Regions from separate parts of the Homo sapiens genome. Here region 2 is linked to region 1. Evidence: promoter capture Hi-C in human tissues and cell types (Jung and others, 2019). All regions are on one chromosome and are shown on one strand. Each heading gives the region's core, a stretch centred on a gene start or on the middle of the fragment in contact. The rest is flanking DNA. Distances are from core to core; before and after follow the strand shown.

What was found. Contacts are between HindIII fragments. The study calls those that stand out against the background at their distance.
Region 2: a fragment that was not itself captured here is called in contact with the fragment with the promoter of ANKRD34B in region 1 in 1 of the 25 tissues and cell types used here (adrenal gland).

The regions. Positions count from the first base shown.
Region 1 is chr5:80,569,030-80,571,747 of GRCh38, reverse strand. It overlaps ANKRD34B (ankyrin repeat domain 34B), which reads left to right and starts at 1,468. Exons shown (of 5, transcript NM_001004441.3): 1 at 1,468-1,594; 2 at 2,641-2,718. The HindIII fragment of the contact is 14,198 bases long and covers 1-2,718 here.
Region 2 is chr5:80,607,304-80,610,021 of GRCh38, reverse strand. It overlaps LINC01337 (long intergenic non-protein coding RNA 1337), which reads left to right. Exons shown (of 2, transcript NR_125754.1): 2 at 1,077-1,402. Among named protein-coding and RNA genes, the nearest start is that of LINC01337, 14 kb to the left of the region's middle. The HindIII fragment of the contact is 4,173 bases long and covers 1-2,718 here.

The DNA of each region.
Region 1 (2,718 bases), core at 219-2,718:
GGAAGTGATTCACCCTCCTTGGCCTCCCAAAGTGCTGGGATTACAGGCATGAGCCACAGCACTCAGCCAAAATATTTGCCTTTTAATAGGTACACTGCACATTGATGAAATTTTTTTAAGAGAACAGTCGGAGGTGGTAAGGGGGAGGAGCCCCGTGCCTTCATGCAAATTGGCTCAGTCTTCCTGGTAACCTCCAAACAAACAGCTGTAGGCAAAGGGCAGCCCAGATATAGGATTCAAACTCCCTAGAGCCTAACTTTGGGGTAAAGCACCCTGTGCAATTGCTTTGCATATGTTTACTAAATGAGGACCCTTTAGGTCCTCATTTCGGAGAGATCTTTTCTTTAATAAAGGAAGCCTGACCAGAGATAAATCTACTTTTCCCGAGAACTCAAAACTATAAACAAGTTTTGATTGACATTATCTGAATAACAAAAATAGTGATGGCCTTTCTCCACCAGACCCTCCAAGATAAATGAAGAGTTAAAAACTTTGCTTCTGGCCGGGCGTTGTGGCTCACACCTGTAATCCCGGCACTTTGGGAGGCCGAGGTGGGTGGATCACTTGAGGTCAGGAGTTCGAGACCAGCCTGGGCAACATGGTGAAACCCCATCTCTACTAAAAATACAAAAATTGGCCAGGCGTGATGGTGCACACCTGTCATCCCTGCTACTCCAGAGGCTGGCTCATGAGAATCGGTTGAACCCAGGAGGCAGAGGTTGCAGTGAGCCGAGATCACACCACTGCACTCCAGCCTGGGTGACAGAATGAGACTCCGTCTCAAAAAAACCAAAAACTAAAAACGACAGAAAAAGTTGCTTCTGCTTCATTTCCTTTTCATCTCTCAGTAGAGTTTAACATATGAAATGTATTTTTCGAAATTTTGTTAATATGTTTATTCATGTTTTAATAATAGCATAATAACCTTATAAATTCCTAAAGACGTAAATAAGAACGGTTGTTCCCACTAACACCCCAACCTGAAGTGTGGCTCTGGCTTTACCTGAAGTGGGTACAGGGATGCGGAGGGGTGGAAGGACCGGTGGGGACAGATGGACCCATGAACCAGCGGGTGGATGTGAGCTGAGGGGAGGGATACGGACTGGAGGAGCCAAAGCCCGTGACGTAGGGGTGCGTGCTTCCCTCAATGGGGAGACCCTGCTGCCGCTGTTGTTGGCCAAGTCGCCGTGGCCGAAGCGCGGTGGCCGAAGCGGGGGACGGGGGTGGGACTTACGGGGACAGAAGGCGGAGCTTCCAGCAGCTGCTGGCCCCCCTGGGTCCAGAGGAGCCTTGCCGCCCTCACCTGCGCAGAGCCTGGAGCCGACGCGTCACCCCCAGCGGAAGCGCCTCGCTGCCCGGGCGTCTGGCGAGGTGTGCGCTCCGGGTCCCAGCTCCAGCGCTTCGCGGCAGTCGCCCGCCTCTTTCCGCAAGCAGGGCGGGGACTGGGCGGCATCTACCGAGATCTGCGATTCGAGGCGCCGAGGAGCCGAAGACCACAGCTCAGCTCAGACGGCGCCCTAGGGCCGCACAGAGGGTCGGGCAGTGCCGGAGAGAGGTTTGAAAGCGCCGCCGCCAACTCGACAGCGCGTCCCAGGTCAGTGTGAGGCGCCGTCCCTGCCGGCTGCACTTGGGAAACTTTGGCTTGCAGTGGCGGCTGCCGGGAGGAGGACATCGAGGGCGCAGCGTGGAACCCAGCGGCCCGCACGGCCTCAGTGCTCCCTGCCCGGTGCGCGCAAGCCCCTGAAGCCCGCACCTCCCGCTCACCCTGACATTGCAGTGCCCCGAGCAGGATGAGAGACCCAGGGCCAGCCGAGGGCCGCCGGGCTGCAGGGGCCTCCCGAGAGACTCTGCCCCGCCACCCCGGGGCGCGCTCCACGCGAGCTCACCCTCGCGCCTCCTGCCTTTCCCACTGGTTCTCGGTTCCAGTTTTGCGGCCGCTGGGGCTTGGACTCCGCGGGGATGCGGGTTCCGCCTCCTTCTCAGCCTCGCCGAGCGGCGGGAACCGGCGAGGGCTGCCCGGCCGCGGGGTGTCGAGGAGGATGCGGGGCGGGGGGCCTGATGGGCGAAGGTCGGCGCAGCAGCGGGAGCGGCGCGCGCTGGGCCGCAAGAGCGCGCGGGTCGGAGGGGCTGACTTGGGCGCGTCTCCGGAGGGGCTGACTTGGGCGCGTCTCCGCAGGTGCCTCGGCAGCTGGGCAGCAGGAGGTGCCGGCTGGGCGCTGGGGGCGGGCTGGGGACTGCGGAGCCCTTTGCAGCTTCCAGGAGCTCCTGCTTCCAGGAGCCACACAGGGGCGGGCAGCCGGTTCCCGCCCTTCTCAGGTGCGCACAGCCTTGGCACCAGGATACCGGACCCCCTTAGCAGAGAGCCGGGTGCAGAGGTGCGCCTGCTCCGGGATGGGGGCAGTGGCTGCGCCCCTCAGACGCACCATTTCCCAAGGGAGGGCCGCGTCCGGCCGGCGGGCGAGCGGCGCAGGGACCGCTCCGCAGCGGCTGTGGGCAGAACCCGTTTTCATGGATGGTGATCGCCTTAGCCCGCCAGCTGCCTGCCCTGGCTCAGAGATGAGGCGACGAAACGCGCACCCCGCCCCCATCGGTGCCCTGGAGCTGTCGCCCCAGTCACCTTCCTTTGCCCTTCTCCGACAGCGCCTTGAGCTCGCTTCCTCCTGCTCTCAGGAAAAACTGAGGAAACGCGCCTGGTTCCAGGGGTCGGCGGGGACCGTG
Region 2 (2,718 bases), core at 78-2,577, 38 kb before region 1:
TCCTGGGATCAGGACTACAGGCATGCATCACCCTGCCTAGCTAAGCTTTTTTATTTTTTGTAGAGGCAGGGTCTTATTATGTTGACCAGGCTAGTCTGAAACTCCTGGCCTCAAGCAGTCCTCCCACTTCAGCCTCCCAAAGTGCTAGGATTACACGTGTAAGCCTCCACCCTGGGCTGAAGCTAGAGATTAATTTTCAGGAGTTAATATCTCTCCATTAATTTAGCTCTTCTTTAATTTCTGTCATCAATATTATATAATTTTCAGTATAGAGGGAAGGTCTTAGACATCTTAGATTTATTTGTGAGAATTTGGTGCTTTTTGATGTTATAATTGAATTGTTTAAGTTTTTTGTCTCTAGCATATAGAAATGATTTTTGCATACTGACTGTATCAAGAGGCCTTGCTAAATTCATTTATTCTAATAGCGTATGGATTCTTTTGGATTTTCTTTGTACATGATGATGTTTACTTATAATGCTGGCTACGATCTCCAATGATATTTATACTTTTCTGTATGTATAATATACTTCAGTTGTTTTAATTTAGTGACAAAACTGAGTTAAACTAAAGAGACTAAAATGACATAACCAAATGTAATGCATGAAACCTGATTGGATCTTGATTTTTTAAAATGTATAAGAGGTTTGCTCCTACAATGAAAGAAATTTGAACATGATCTGAACATTAAATGATTGAATGAAAATATTGTTAATTTTCTTTAAAATACTTTGATTATTGTGTTGTAATTATATAGAAGTGTACTGTTCTTAGGAGATGAATGTATTTAGAGAAATAATCACGACAAATATTCATCAAAAGTGTGTGTGTAGAAAGAGAGAGAGACAAAGCAGATGTGCAAAATGTTAACAATTCTTGAATCTAAATGGAGACTTGTGGTACACAGGCTTACAGTAGTTCCCATGATTCCGACTCCTGGTGTTCATACTCTTATGTGACACCTCTCCCTCTCCCTTCTTGTGAGCAAGAACTGTGACTTGCTTCTGGACAATAACATATGGCAAAGGTGACAGGATATACATGATTACCTAAGTTCTCTCTTTTTCCTTTATTAGCTTTGAGGAAGCAAGTGAACATCTTGGGCAATCCCAACAAGGAAGTAACATGGCCTCTATGGGGTGAGGGTAGCTTCCAGCTGACAGCCAGCAAGAAACAGAAGACCTCAATCTTATAGATGCAAAGACCTGAATTATGCCTATAATGTGAGTGAGCTTAGAAGTTATTTTTTCCCCCAGTCAAGCATCTGATGAGACCACAGCCCTGGCTGGCATCTTGTACAGTCTTGTGAAACCTTAAGAACAGGATCCAGCTAAACCATAGCCAGCATCTTGAGCCACAGAAGTTGTGAGATAATAAATATATGTTGTTTTAAGCTGCTAAATGTGTGGTAATATTATTGTACAGCAATAGAAAGCTAATACAAGATGTGATGGTTAATTTTATGAGTCAACTTGACTGGGTGCCCAGATACTTAAACATTATTCTGGGTGTTTCTGTGAAGGTGTTTTTTGTTTGTTTCATTTGGGTTTCATTGTTTTTGTTTTTATTTTTGTTTCAGGGACAGGGTCTTGCTCTGTTGCCCAGGTTGGAATGCTATGGTGTGATCATAGCTCACTATGGCCTCAAACTTCTAGGCTCAAGCCATCTTCCCACCACAGCCTCCCAAAGTACAAGGATTACAGGTGTGAGCCACTGCTCCCAGCCTTGTGATGATGTTTTTTGATGAAATTAACATTTAAATTAATAGCCTGAGTAAAGAAAATTGTCCTTCCTAATGTGGATGGGCCTCATCAAATCAGTTGAAAGCCTGAATAGAATTAAAAGGCTGACCCTCACCCAAGTAACAGAATTCTTCCTGCCTGACTGCCTTTGACCTGGGACATTGGCTTATTTTTCTCCCTTTTGACTCAAACTGAAACATCTGCACTTCCTGGCTCTTGAGCCTGCTGGCCTTTAGACAGAAGCTACACTGTTGACTCTACTGGTTCTCAGGTCTTTGGACTCAGATTGGAACTGAACCATTGGCTCTCCTGGGTGTCTGGCTTGCTGATTTCACCCTGAAGAACTCAGGACTTGTCAAGACTCCATAATTGCATGAGCCAATTCAAATCAATGAATCCTATTGGTTCTGTTTCTCTGGAGAACCCTGACTAATATGCAAGAATATACAGATGTCATCATATTATTAAGCTTTTCTATATGTTTGAAAATATTCACAATAAAAATTGGGAAAAATGATTCAAAGTCAGCAAGTGCTAGAAGACAGTTCAAAAGTGGCTCTTAAAGAAGTTCACTAGACTTTCTCCTTTCCTGATTCTCAACTTGTCTCCCTTCCTACTTCAGTGAATCTACTTCATTTAATATGGACTTTTAAACACACAATAGACACTGTAGTTAAACACAAATAATAAATCTGCCCCTTTTTTGTGCAGATTTAGTCTCTATAAACATTATGCTGATAAAGTTTGGCCTTAACCTTTGTTCTGTAAATGTTTCAGAATTTTTTACTGCCACATTACAAGATAGATGTCAGTCTAAATGCAGGCTTTTCTATAAAACTCAGCAGCTTCATAGATGGCCTCTAATTCATAGTCATAAAAGACAGGACTACATTTTTTTGGTTGAAAATAATTTCAAGAACCTCTTAAGTTCCCACCAGAACATAATGCTACTCTTGATTCTGCATGAGGTCAGTTT